Linked DNA regions of Homo sapiens: region 2 is linked to region 1. The links are contacts of gene promoters, found by promoter capture Hi-C in human tissues and cell types (Jung and others, 2019). All regions are on one chromosome and are shown on one strand. Each heading gives the region's core, a stretch centred on a gene start or on the middle of the fragment in contact. The rest is flanking DNA. Distances are from core to core; before and after follow the strand shown. Region 1 holds the start of OR10H1 (olfactory receptor family 10 subfamily H member 1). Region 2 has its middle 26 kb from the start of CYP4F8.

Evidence for each region. Contacts are between HindIII fragments. The study calls those that stand out against the background at their distance.
Region 2: a fragment that was not itself captured here is called in contact with the fragment with the promoter of OR10H1 in region 1 in 1 of the 25 tissues and cell types used here (small bowel).

Annotation. Positions count from the first base shown.
Region 1 is chr19:15,813,074-15,820,481 of GRCh38, forward strand. It overlaps OR10H1 (olfactory receptor family 10 subfamily H member 1), which reads right to left and starts at 2,591. Exons shown (of 4, transcript NM_013940.4): 1 at 2,482-2,591. The HindIII fragment of the contact is 22,557 bases long and covers 1-7,408 here.
Region 2 is chr19:15,585,059-15,592,466 of GRCh38, forward strand. No RefSeq gene overlaps it. Among named protein-coding and RNA genes, the nearest start is that of CYP4F8, 26 kb to the right of the region's middle. The HindIII fragment of the contact is 7,557 bases long and covers 1,369-7,408 here.

The sequences.
Region 1 (7,408 bases), core at 1,341-3,840:
CTCTAATGTAACTGTGGATTTCAGTCAATGACAATGTGTCAACACTGGTTCATCAGTTGTAACAGATTAATGGTAAAAAAAAAAAAAAATCCCAGTTGCTAATTATAGGGGAAATTGTGTGCAGGCGGAGAGAGGGTATATGGAGATTCTCTGCAGTATCTATCTGCTCTATGTTCTGTAAATCTGAAACTGCTCTTAAAATAAAGTCTATTAATTTTAAAAAGTAAAACAAAACCAAACCCATGGTGGATGTGGGACTAGGATAGCAGCGAGGAGGATTTAGAGCTTCTGGGCATTGATTCACCAGCAGAACATCCAGTGGGTTCCTCTGTAGGTAAAACAGAGAGAGAGAAAGGTAGGAAGAGAAAGAGAGAGATGGGGATAGAGAGAGAGGCAGGGGAAGAGAGAGAGAGAGAGAGAGAGAGAGGAGGCGAGGGAGAAACAGAGAGAGAGAGGTGGGGAGAGAAAGAAAGAGAGGTGGGGAGAGAGAAAGAGAGAGACAGAGAGGTGGAGACACAGAGAGATGTGGGGAAAGAGCACACACAGAGAGAGAGAGAGATGGAGGGAGAGAGAGAAGTGGGGAGATAGAGAGTGGGAGGTGGGGGGAGAGAGAGAGAGAAGGACAGGGAGAAAGACACAGAGAGAGGTGGGGAGAGAGAAGTGGGGAGAGAGACACAGAGAGTGTGGGAGGTGGGGAGAGAGAGGGTTGGGGAAAGAGAGAGAGAGACAGAGAGAAGGGTGGGGAGAGAGAGAGAAGTGGAGAGAGAGGGAGGTGGGAAGAGAAACAGAGAGAGGAAAGAGAGGTAGGGAGAAAGAGAGGACAGAGGGGAAAGAGAAGAAAAAGGTGAGAAGAAAGAGAGAGAGCAAGCAAGCCCACTGTCTAGCACTGACAGGAACACCCGGTGGGGCCAGTTCTCCACTCAGAGACTCTAGGGCTAAGCGTGGCTGTGGACAAGTCCTGCCACAGACATCCCTAGAGCAGGGTTTCCTGCCTTCAGCATTAGGGACGCTAGGGGCGAATCATTCTCTCTCAGAGGGGTGTCCTGTGCACTGCAGGAGACTGAGCAGCATTCTTGGTCTCCACCCACCAGATAGATACCAGCAGCACTCCCCAGTCACGACAATCAGAAATGTCCTTATACGTTGTCACGTGTCTCCTGGGTGACAGCATCACTCCATGGGCCAGGCCTGTCTTGTCTCTGAGACCCCATCTGGCCTTAACTCTCACCCATCCTGGCTCTCTCTTCTTAGTGAAGCTGTCTGGCCTCCCCTCTCTTCCACTTAAGCCACCACTTCCCTCTCTTTTCTCTCCATCTTCTCATCCCCAGCTCCTAACCATTCCCTCACCACCTGCTCCCATTGACGCCTCCCTTGTGTGTGTGTGTGTGTGTGTGTGTGTGTGTGTGTGAGAGAGAGAGAGAGAGAGAGAGAGAGAGAGAGAGAGAGAGAGAGAGAGAGAGACAGGGTATCCCTCTGTCACCCAGGCTGGAGTGCAGAGGCACAATCACAGCTCACTGCAGCCTTAACTTCCTGGGCTCAAGCAATCCTCCCACCTCAATCTCTGGAGTAGCTACAGGTGCCTGCCATTCCTGGCCAATTTTTGTATTTTTTTGTACAGACAGGGTCTCACTATGCTGCCCAGGCTGGCCTCAAACTCTTGGACTCAAGTGATCCTCCCACCTTGGCCTCCCAAAGTGCTGGGATTGCAGGCATGAGCCACTGCACCCGGCCCACCCTGATTCTTTACACCCTGGGGTGGTGGCTGGAGCTTCTGAACCCTGAATCCTCTTTCTCTCTTTTCTCCGCCTCTTCCCAATCCTTTTTCCGTAGACTTCTTGCCTGGACAGACCGAGAAGAGAGGTTAAAATCAAACCATCACCTTGGGTCACATTGAGCATTGGCTGTCTTCTCTCTGCACCTGTTACCTCCCCCATCCAAGGGACCTACCTCATGAGGCAGCAGGAGCTCTAAAGAAGGCAAGTCCTGGCTGGGCACGATGGCTCATGCCTGTAATCCCAGTACTTTGGGAAGCCGAGGCGGGTGGATCACGAGATCAGGAGTTCAAGACCAGCCTGTCCAGCATGGTGAAACCCCTGTCTCTACTAAAAATACAAAAAATTAGCCAGGCATGGTGGCACGCACCTGTAGTCCCAGCTACTCAGGAGGCTGAGGGAGAAGAATCGCTTGAACCTGGCAGGCGGAGGTTGCAGTGAGCCGAGATTGCGCCACTGCACTCCAGCCTGGGCTACAGAGCGAGATTCCGTCTCAAAAAAAAAAAAAAAAAAATAGAAGAAGGTAAGTCCTGCTAAGCAAACAGCACACTGACTAAGACGTGGTGAGTGGCCTCTGCCTGTCACCCACTGCCCTGTAGACTCACATTGCTAAAGGAGTAATATAAACAGGTGGTTTCTTGGAGTCCCTGGCAGGTGCTGGTTCCCCAGGTCTCTCCTGGTCAGGTGGCTGAGAGGGGAGGTGACTCACCTGGGACTCCAGGCATCTGCTTCTGCTTCATCCCAGTAGGAGGCTCTAGTTTGGAGTTTCTCCACAGGTGGGAGCTGACCAGGTGTGGGCTGCACCAAGCAGCCACACCAGCTGAGCCGGGGGCTTGACTGAGCCCAAATGCGATTATTTATCCCTCCCTGACTCCCTGCCCACCGGCTTCCCTCGCTGTGGTCCTACTGTCTCTGTCTCCGCTACAGGGATGCTGGGACCCCAGGGACCCTGCCAGAGAGGAGGCAACCTCAGGGAATCTGTATCCTCACTTTCCCATTCCCCCCGCCTGCCAGGGGTGAGTCAATTCCCTGAGCTTGTCAAGAGCTTGAGCAGAGTCTAGTGCTCTACAGATTTGGGGTTTGGGCCCATGACTGTTGAAATTGACAGGAGGGCAGCCCTGCCATTGCCCCCAGGGACTGCAGAGGCTGCCTTGATATGCCCCGTCACCTTCATTCTTCTCCAACTGGGTCATTTGCCCAACTAAATGTCCTTTAAAATAATTTTTTAAAACCAACACACACACACGTATTTGTTTTTATTTTTATTTTTTGAGACAGGGTCTAGCTCTGTTGCCCAGGCTGGAGTGCAGTGGTGTGATTATGGCTCACTGCAGCCTCAACCTCCCAGGCTCAAATGATTCTCCTGCCTCAGCCTCCTGAGCAGCTGGGAGTAAAGGTGCTTGCCACCACACCTGGGCTAAGTTTTAATTTTTCTGTAGAGATGGGGTCTCGCTTTGTTGCCCAGGCTGGTCTTGAGCTCCTTGGCTCAAGGGATCCTCCCACCTTGACCTCTCAAAGTGCTGGGATTACAGCTGTGAGCCACCATGCCTGGCCTGTTTCTTCTTATTATGTAATTGAAATGCTACATACAAAGCAGCAAACCATGCAATGGCCAGCCAGGCAATCGTGACGGTGAATTTAATGGGTATCCCTTCAGATCTTCATGAGCATGTAGGATGTGAAAACAATGCAAACCCATAAAATCAGAGTTCTGTTGTGCATTATTGTTGCTTTCGCTTCGTTCTGCTTTTGAGGTGAAATTCACATAAAATAATCAACCACTTTAAAGTATACAATTCCCTGGGATTGAATGCATTCACAATGTTGTGTGGCCGCCGCCTCTGTCTAGTTCCAAAATGTTTTCATCACCTAATACCCATTAGCAGCCACTCCCCTACCCCACCCAGTCCTTCAAAACCACCAATTTGTTTTCTGGCTCTGGCTCTATGGACTTACCTATTCTAGACATTTCATATAAATGGGACTATATACTACTATATATAACGATGCATTATGATTGCCCCTGTGAGTAGCCACGGCACTCCAGCCATTTTGTCAACACAAAAATGTCGACATTGCCAAGACTGAGAAACTTTGGTCTGCATAAACTCACACAGAGTTCACTCTAAGACGCTGAGTGAAAAACCAAGTTACGGAAAGATATCTACGGGAGAATCAGATCTGCATTTTAAAAACACACAAAATGGTTTGACAGTTTATCAAAAAGTTAACATAGAAATTATCAAAGGACTCAGCAATTTCACTCCTAGGTATACACCCAAAAGAATGGAAAAGGATTCAAACAAATCCTTGGACATCAAATGTGCATAGCAGCACTGTTCACAGTAGCCAAACGGTATTTTTTAATTTTTCTGTAGAGAGTAGGATTTCACTTTGTTTCTCAGGCTGCTCTTGGAACTCCTGGGCTTAAGCGATTCTCCTGCCTTGACCTCCCAAAGTGCTTGGATTGCAGGTGTGAGCCACTGGACATGGCCTGATCCAAACGTCTATCAATGGCAGATCCAAATGTCTATTAATAAATAAATGGATAAACAAAGTGTGGTATAATCATATAATGGCTATTATTCAGCCACAGAAAGGAATAACATCCCAGTCCAGGCCACAGTAGAGATGAACGTTGAAAACATGTGCTATGTGAAAGGAGCTAGGCTTTTAATTTTATGGATAATTCCATACAAATGATATCTCTTTGATACACTGATTTCTTTTCTTTGGAGTATATACTTAAGTAGTGGCATTTCTGGATCATATGATAGCTCTATGTTTAGTTTTCTGAGAAACCGCCATACTATTATCCATAGTGGTTGTATTAATTTACTTTCCCACCAAAAAATCATGAGGGTTCCCTTTTCTCAGCATCCTCCCAGGCATTCCTTATTGCCTGTCTTCTGGATAAATGCCATCTTAACTGGGTTGAGACATTATCTTGTAGTGTTGATTTGCATTTCTCTCATGATCAGTGAGGTTGAGCATCTTTTAATATGCCTGTTTGCCATGTGTATGTCTTCTTTTCAGAAATGTTTATTCAGATCTTTGGCCCATTTTAAAATCAGATCATTAATTTTTTTCCTATTGAGTTGTTTGAGCCCCTTATGTATCCTGGTTATTAATCCCCTATCAGATGGATAGTTTGCAAGTATTTTCTCCCATTCTGTGATTGTCTCTTCACTTTGTTTATTTTTTATTTACTTTTATTTTTTTTTATTTTTTATTTTTGAGATGGAGTCTCGCTCTGTCGACCAGGCTGGAGCACAGTGGCTCAATCTTGGCTCAATGCAACCTCCACCTCCCGGGTTCCAGCAATTCTCCTGCCTCAGCCTCCTGAGTAGCTGGGATTATGGGCACACGCCACCATGCCCAGCTAGTTTTCTGTATTTTTAGTAGAAATGGAGTTTCACCATGTTGGCCAGGCTGGTCTCGAACCCCTGACCTCAGGTGATCAGCCCACCTCGGCCTTCCAGAGTGCTGGGATTACAGGCGTGAGCCACCACGCCCAGCCCACTTTGTTTATTGTTTCCTTTGCTGTGCAGGTTGTAACGTGATGTGATCCCAGTTACCCATTTTTGCTCTCGTTGTCTATGCCCGTAGTCAAGAAATTTTTGCCCAGACCAATGTCCTGGAGAGTTTCCCTAATGTTTTATTTTAGTAGTTTCATAGTTTGGGGTCTTAGATTTAAGTCTTTAATCCATTTTGACTTTATTTTTTTATGTGGTGAGAGATAGGGGTCTAGTTTCATTCTTCTGTACATGGATATCTGGTTTTCCCAGGACCATTTACTGAAGACAGTGTCATTTCCCCAGTGTATGTTCTTGGCATCTTTGTCTTGGAGGAATTTAGATACACTGGAGGGACCCGCAGAAATAAGATATGGCAGCACGTATACAAATTAAAGCCTTAAAATTTTTGGAGAGATTTTTCAAAATTTGGAATGATATAAATATAATGAAGAACTTTGAACTTAGCCATTTCTAACTTATCTGTTCCAGGAGCACATAAACAGACTAATCGGGATTATAAAACATGCTCACACTAAGTAACTAATATGCAGACATTTATGGAGCGACAACTGTGTGCCTGGCACCAAGGTACAAAGATAAATGAAGCTGGAAACCTTCTCCTGTGGAGTACACAGTGGCAGGAAAGACACAAATATTAAAGTTAAAATTATGTCACGGTGGCAGGGCACGGTGGCTCACGCCTGTAATCCCAGCACTTTGGGAGGCCGAGGCGGATGGATCATGAGGTCCGGAGTTCGAGACCAGCCTGGCCAACATGGTGAAACCCCGTTTCTACTAAAAATACAAAAATTAGCTGGGCGCGGTGGCAGGCACCTGTAATCCCAGCTACCTGGGAGGCTGAGGCAGGAGAATCGCTTGAACCCAGGAGGCAGAGGTTGCAGTGAGCCAAGATCGCACCACTGCACTCTAGCCTGGGTGATAGAGTTAGACTTCATCTCAAAAAAAAAAAAAATATGTCATGGTGTGATCGATGTTGAGCTAGCAAGGAGGGGTGGCAGGACCAGGAAAAGTCCATCAAAATTGGTGATGGGAGTCATAAGGATGAGTAGACTTCAGCCAGTCAGAAGATCAGAGAAAAGGTGCTACAAGTAGACAGAACAGAGTCTTGAAGATGGCTTCAGAGGGATATGGTGGAACGAGCCTGAATGCAGTCTAGTAAGCCAGGGACATGAGGCAAGGAGAGGACAAAGATGGAAGAGGGTCTGGAGAGGTGGCCAAGGACAGCTTAAGGAGACTTGGAGGGTGGTCGAAGGAGCTGTGGCTTCCTCTTGATGTCTGGAGAGTCACCAGAGGGTTTAAATCCTTGTAATCCCAGCACTTTGGGAGGCCGAGGCAGGAGGATCACTTGAGGCCAGGAGTTCAAGACCAGTCTGGGAAACATAATGAGACCCCCCCATCTCTACCAACAATTATTTACAAATTAAAAATAAATAAATAAATCCTATGAGTGACATGTTCAGCCACCTGAGGGAGGATGGGATCGGGGGAGGTGATGACTGAACAGCTTCAACCAACTCAGAACAGCCAGTTGTCAACTTCTGAAAATTGTTGCAACCTGGTTGTTAAACACAGCTCTGATTAAAAGTAAACTGTATGAAATTACAGTGAAATAAATTAAGGGAATCTAGGAGTGAGCTCTGTCTTCTCACTTCTGTCATGATTGAAAGGTTCATCTATGACTCTTAGCGTTATTTTCAGCACCTACCAATTGATGGCAGGTCTTCTGTAAATACAGATTATAAGGAGATTGATTCTTCTATCTGAAAGTCTCAGAAGTTCTTAGAGACAAATAATTTTCTTAAAGATTAAGCAGGTGAGAAAGTAATGAACTCTAGAAGCTTAAAGCTGTAATAACTGCTTAAAATGTATCACTTCTTAATTATTTCATATATATTTTACCATTGTCTGTGCTTTTGAGTTTATGACTATTGCACGTGTACTGTGGAAATACTCCATATACTAGTAGCACATCAGCAGGCTTCAACCTTTTTGGCACCAGGGACCAGTTTCATGGAAGATAATTTTTCCACGGACTGGGGTTGGGGGATGGTTTTGGGATGATTCAGGCACATGACATTTATTGTTGTGCACTTTATT
Region 2 (7,408 bases), core at 3,897-6,396, 230 kb before region 1:
TTTGAGGCTCTGAGTCACTGAGGAAAACCAGAGCGGCACTACATCCCCGCCCCTCGATCTCAATTCTCATCTCCTAATACATCCAGTTGTTTTTTTTCCTCTCACCTCAGGGTTCTTCACCGTTTTCATTGTTCTTAAACGACTGCACTTATTAAACAATAATAAGCCTGGTTGTTTTACAGTGTGTCTGATCATTGAAAGTACCTGTATCTATTACAATGACTGTCATTTTTGTCATGGGGTCAGTGTTTCGGTTATCTTTGCCTGGTATTGGCTGCCATATTTGCATATTAGAAATAATATTCGTAGGATTTAAAGAAGGCAGAGTTCTCTCTCTCTTTTTTTTTTTTCTGAAACAGAGTCTTGCTCTGTCACCCAGGCTGGAGTGCAGTGGCAAGATCTCGGTTCACTGCAACCTCTGCTCCTGGGTTCAAGCGATTCTCCTGCCTCAGCCTCCCAAGTAGCTGGGACTACAGGTGACTGCCGCCACCCCCGGCTAATTTTTTTTTTCTTTTTTTTTGAGACGGAATCTCACTCTGTCGCCCTCGCTGGAGTGCAGTGGCGTGATCTCGGCTCACTGCAAGTTCTGCCTCCCGGGTTCACGCCATTTTCCTGCCTCAGCCTCCCGAGTAGCTGGGACTACAGGCGCCCGCCACCACGCCCGGCTAATTTTTTGCATTTTTAGTAGAGACGGGGTTTCACCATGTTGGCCAGGCTGGCCTCGAACTCCTGACCTCAAGTGATCCGCCTGCCTTGGCCTCTGAAAGTGCTGGGATTAACAGGCGTGAGCCACTGTGCTCAGCCAGAAGAAGGCAGCTTTGTCTAGGGAGCAGTCTTTGGAGGACTGCTGGTTGAGGTTTATGTTCATGACCCTCTAGGCTTGTGGTGACCAAGGTCACCCAGGAGGTTTAAATTTAAGCTGAAATCACACTTGCAAGCTGTTTTGCTTTATTTTTTTCTCACTCTGAGAGATGTAGCCCTTTGAGGTCTCCACATATGCAAGGAGGGGATTTTTACCATTTTCCCTCCTTGTATCACACCTAGGCTTAGAATTTTTTTTTTCCTGCAATCACAAAACCGTTAAAAGAGTTTCAAATTTTCCTGATTTGAGAAGTGCCTTCAGAGAGAAGGTATAGTTTATATTCACTTTATCTCTAGGTTTCTGTTATTATTTGAATCATGTTTTTGTGATTTTTCACTCTTCTTTTTTTAAAAAAATTATTTTATTTTAAGTTCTGGGATACATGTGCAGGACGTGCAGGTTTGTTACATAGGTAAATGTGTGCCATGGTGATTTGCTGCAATGTGACTGCAGCAATGTGATTTGCTGCATGGTGATACCTACCCATCACCTAGGTATTCAGCCCCACATCCATTAGCTGTTTGTCCTGATGCTCTCCCTCCTCCTGCCCCCACCACAGGCCCCAGTGTGTGTTGTACCCCTCCCTGTGTCCATGTGTTCTCATTGTTCAGCTCTCACTTATGAGTGAGAACATGCAGTGTTTGGTTTTCTGTTCCTGTGTTAGTTTGCTGAGGATAATGGCTTCCAGCTCCATCCATGTCCCTGCAAAGGACCTGGTCTTGTTCCTTTTTATGGCTGCATAATACTCCATGGTGTATATGTACCACATTTCCTTTAACCAGTCTATCACTGATGGGCATTTGGGTTGATTACATGTCTTCGCTATTGTTTCACTGTCTTTTCATGTCATTTATTTATATGAAGAATTGAAGAAGCATCTACCTTTTTTTTTTTTCTTTTTTTGAGACAGAGTCTCATTCCATTGCCCAGGCTGGAGTGCAGTGGCTTGATCTCGGCTCACTGCAACCTCCACCTCCCGGATTCAAGTGATTCTCCTGCCTCAGCCTCCTGAGTAGCTGGGATTCCAGGCTCCTGCCACCATGCCTGGCTAATTTTTGTATTTTTAGTAGAGATGGGGTTTCACCATGTTGGCCAGGCTGGTCTCGAACTCCTGACCTGAAGTGATCCGCCCACCCCAGCCTCCCAAAGTGCTGGGGCTACAGGCGTGAGCCACCACACCCAGCTGCATCCAGCTTTTTAAAAATGCTGGAATTTTGATCCAAATAACTTAGTTTGCTATTAATGGAAGCAACAAGTGTAAAACAGAATGTTAAATTGTCATGATCCAGTGATTGCTCCACTCTGGGATGCGTTAGAACTGATAATTGCTATTAAATTTATAGATTTCCACACCACACAAGCCCACATCAAAATGTGAAGCAGAGTACCGCACATCAAGGCCGAGTGCAGTGGCTCATTCCTGTAATCCCAGCACTTTGGGAGGCCGAGGTGGGTGGATCACTTCAGATCAGGAGTTGGAGACCAGCCCGACCAACATAGCGAAACCCCATCTCTACTAAAAATGCAAAAATTTGCTGGGCATGGTGGCACGTGCCTGTAGTTCCAGCTACTTGGGAGGCTGAGGCAGTAGAATTGCTTGAACCTGGGAGGTGGAGATTACAGCGAGCTGAGACTATACCACTGCACTCCAGCCTGGGCAACAGAGCGAGACTCTATCTCAAAAAAAAAAAAATTAAAAAAAGAACTGCACATCACCCAGAAATCCTGGACTTTGAGCTGGCAGGAGGGAGCAGATGGAATTTGGATTTGATTTGGCCTCTTGATTGATCTCTGTTTTCAGAACAGACCCCACGGTCACGTTCCAGCTCCTCTCACTCTGCTAATGTCTTTCATTACTGCCACCATCTGACTTGCACTTATGCAACCCAACTCTTCCCCTTCTGGAGCCACCTTCCTCTTGCTCCCTTTCACTAAGATGTCCCAACGGGCCATGTTGCCCAACCCGGATAAAAGGTGGCCGCTCACTTCCCCTTTCAGAAGCCGACTCTTGTCCGTTTCTCTCCACCATACCCTGCCCTCTGACTTAGGCCTGCTCTTACCTTTGGGGGATGCGGCCTCGGTGTGTTCATTTGTAAATGGCAAGATTGATGGGCCTGTTCACAAGGGCAGTGGGATGGTGCACAGGACACACTAGTACAGAGCCTGGTGCAGAAGCTGCTCCCAGGTGGGAGCCACCATCCTGATGGACAGTTAGGGTCACCTCTGCTCCTCTGCAGGCTGCTGAGAAGGGAAGGTTCCTATGTATAGACCCTTTTCCATGAGAGGAACTGAAGCCCGGGTGGACCAGCCAGAACATGAAAGGATTTGGGGACCAGCCCTAGCGCATATCCTGAGGCCACACTGCTGCCCACAAACTGCCCTTGTGGAGCCCACTCCATATGACTCTCCATGGGCTGGAACCACTCTCAGGAAAAGAATACATTTCCTCTCAAGCCAAAACAGACCTCTCTGTTGGCAGACAGTGTGTCTTCTCCCTCTGCCCTGGAATGCACCCTTGGGGCTTGGAGATGTCCCTGATACAGAAGGAACAGGAGGAAGCAGAGCTTCCCTTTATCCATGCAGAATCTAGACACTGTTTACTGCTGAGGCTGCACCACAGCCAGAGGCTGCAGGCAGACCTGCGATCTTAGGGTTCTCCTTAGAATCAGAATCAATAGAATATATCTCTATCTATGTTTGTATCTATCCATCTATCTGGAAAGGGAGGTAGAGTGAATAGGGAATTTATTACAGGAATCGTCTCTTGTGATTAGGGAGGCTGAGAAGTTCTACAAGATGCTCTCTGTAAGCTGGAGAACTAGGGATGCCTGGTGGGGTAGCTGCATCTGAGTCCAAAGGCCTGAGAACCTGGAGTTCTCATGTCCAAGGGCAGGAGAAGATGGATGTCCCAGCTCCAGAACAGAGAGCAAATTCACCCTCTGCCTTTAGATCTATCCATGGAGTTGCAGCAAACTCCTTCAAAGAGTGACTTATCTTTGCAGAGTCAAAGGTTGTTTTTTTTTTTTTTTTTTTTTTGAGACGGAGTCTTGCTCTGTCAACCAGGCTGGAGTGCAGCGGCGCGATCTCGGCTCACTGCAAGCTCCGCCTCCTGGGTTCACGCCATTCTCCTGCCTCAGCCTTCCGAGCAGCCGGGACTACAGGCGCCCGCCACCACGCCCGGCTAATTTTTTGTATTTTTTCGTAGAGATGGGGTTTCACCGTGTTAACCAGGATAGTCTCGATCTCCTAACCTCGTGATCTAGCAGCCTCGGCCTCCCAAAGTGCTGGGATTACAGGCGTGAGCCACCGCGGCCGGCCAGTCAAAGGTTTCTTTTCCCACTCCACCTAGGCTTTCAGCTTCCTCTAAGGGGAGTGATGGTTTATGAAAGAGAGAGTGAGTGGGGAGGCAGAGGGCCAGTGGGCCTCTAGGATTCTGCTACACCTGTGTATGTAATTCTAGAAACATTCTCAGGGCTGTGCGCAGTGGCTCACACCTGTAATCCAAGGACTTTGGGAGGCCAAGGCGGGTGGATCACGAGGTCAGGAGTTCGAGACCAGCTCATCCAACATGGTGAAACCCCGTCTCTACTAAAAAATACAAAAATTAGCCAGGCGTGGTGGTGCACGCCTGTAGTCCCAGCTACTCGGGAGGCTGAAGCAGGAGAATCGCTTGAACCTGGGTGGCGGAGGTTGCAGTGAGCCGAGATCCTGTTACTGCACTCCAGGCTGGCAACAGAGTGAAACTCCACCTAAAAAAAATAAAAATAAAAATAAATAACAACAACGACAACAACAACAACAGCAACAACAAAACGTACTCAGGCCTGCTCAGGCCTGGTCTTGTCATCGGTTGCTGTGGGGCCTCCTTCCTCTCTTGAATGTGAAGGAGGCACCACTGGACAGTTTGGGGAGAACAGACTCCCAGGTGTCTGGATTATTAGTTTGTCTCTGTGTTTGTTTGTGTGTGTGTGACAGAGAGAGAGAGAGAGAGAGGATGTGTGTGGGTGTGCGATTGTAGGTGTGTGTGTGACTGTATCTGTGGGACTGCATTCACAGCGTGTGCAAGTGTGTTTGTGAGTGTATGTAATTGTGTGCATGGGTGGCTGTGATCACATGTGCATATGTCTGTATTACACCGTGTTGGCGACTGAGTGTCTGAGTGTGGTATGCATGTGTGAGTGTGTGTATGTTGTTGTCACTGAGCCACTGTAGCTGTCTACACCAGGCTGTGTTCCTATTCATGACTGGAGCCACTATCACAGCCACTGTCCTTGACCCCAGGCCTGACCCTTGCAGTGCAGGCAGCACATTCTCATGCCCTTGACCCCACATCTGACCCTTGCAATACAGGCAACACATTCTCATGCCCTTGACCTTACATCTGGCCCTTGCAGTGCAGGCAGCACATTTTCATGCCCTTGATCCCATGTCTGACCCTTGCAGTGCAGGCAGCACATTCTCATGTCCTTGGAAGCAGCCCTCAACAATGGGTGGTGAGTATTGGTGGGTAAATGCCCCAGCTCCTTTTCCCTGAGTGGGATGACTCTGAGGTGCATGTTCTATGCTGTCTCCCAGAGGTGCCATGGAGGGCTGAGCCTTGGCTGCCCATGGTGGAAACTATTTTAAATAAGTTCCTTTTAATTGCTACATTTCCTTTCCTGTCTCAGTTTTCAGCTGTCCTACTGGTGTTTCCTGGACTTACCTCCCAAACAAACAACTGGCAGTTGAAATTTGGTCACCTCTAAATAAATTATTTGCACTTGAATCCTTGCATCAGGGTCTACTTCCAGGAAACCCAAACTAAGACAAGCATGTCTGCTGGCTTCTCCCATCTCAATAGGCTTATCACTGTGTCCTTTGTACTGAAGAGGAACATGAGATTCAGAGAAGACAAGTCACTTGCCCAAAGTCACACAGCTGATTAGTGGCAGGTCCAGGTTTGACCATGGGCCACCTAATCCCAAGCTTGGTGCTTGCTCCTCTCCTGAGAGACTCCACCCTACTAAAGGCCAGCGGAAACAACATAGGAAGTTCGAAGCCATCAAGGGCTTTGCTGCATGTGCCAGAGGGAACCAAGGCTCATAGCTGGTGTCTGTGTCCTTGTCCTGTCATTAGAGTAATAATGGCATGCACATGCTTGTGGCTGATTATGTGCCAGGGAATGTTGTTGTAAGCACTTTACTCTTTTAAACTCCCTTAATTTTCACAACAACCTTGCTATGACTCCTGGTTTTCAGGCAAGAAAACTGAGGCACAGAGAAATAAAGAGACTGGCCCAAATTCACACAGCTGGTTGAGAGTTGAACGAAGCAGCCTGCACCTGGAGTCCCTGTTCTTCACCACGACACTCTCTGGCTTCTCACAAGTCATATAGATGGAGTTCTACTAAATGTCAGGCACGATGCTAAGCAATTTCTTTTTTGTTTTTGTTTTTGAGACAGTGTCTCGCTCTGTCACCTAGGCTGGAGTGCAGTGGTGCAATCTTGGCTTACTGCATCCTCCGCTTCCTGTGTTCAAGTGATTCTCCTGCCTCTGCCTCCCAAGTAGTGGTGATTACGGGCATGCTCCACCACCCCTGGTGAAGTTTTGTATTTTTAGTAGAGATGGGGTTTCACCATGTTGGCCAGGCTGGTCTCGAACTCCTGACCTCAGGTCATCCATCTGCCTCGGCCTCCCAAAGTGCTGGGATTACAGGCGTGAGCCACCGTACCCGACCAGCAATTTCTTTTAAAATATAATTTGTAATTATATATATTAGTAATTATAATTAAACATGCTGTACAACCTCATATAATAAAAGGAAACAATTGCTAAGTGTAAGCATTGAGAACAAGAATTCTCCCTTCAACCCCCTGCTCCCATTCCGACAGCTGGGAGAATGCTTATGATGTGCTTATGTAAACTTCAGCACCCACATAACTGGTGTGTTGAGAGGTCCCATCTTTTTGGGGAACGTAACACTCGGGTCCTGGCAGGGAACCCACAGGGGCTAAAGGAGGGGGTTTAAGGAGGAGCCGTTTGCAAAGGTGTGGGCAGGGCCAAGGGGAACCATGAGGGATGGTGCAGCACCCTGGAGGTTACCATCCACCGAGAGCTGTCACCACTCCCAGGCTGGTGGTGCCAGGAAACAGCTGCTCCTGGAACCAAGATCTGTGGCTGAAAGAGGAGGGCAGAGGACAGACCTCATTCTGCTCTCCCCACTGATCATCAGTGGATCTCCCATTGACCAAACTGCCATCTGCTTATATGACTGGAGAGGCTGCAGGCAGGTGTCCAAAGCCTCCTGTTGTGGTTCATTCCTGACAACGGGTCAGTGCTGGTCCCCCCGATCCCACAGACTGAGATCCACTCAGCTTCTCTGCCTTGGGTGGCCCCCTTGTTCACTGACTAGGCAGGCACTTGAATGAGGAACAATATTCTGTCTCTCCCTGTACTCTCCTCTTTTCCCTGTCACAGGGAGGGTCTCTGTTGTTCATGTCCTGAGTCCCTCCATCTAGGGCTGGTGGCTGGTGTTACAGGACCACCAGGTTCATATCCCTGCTGTGC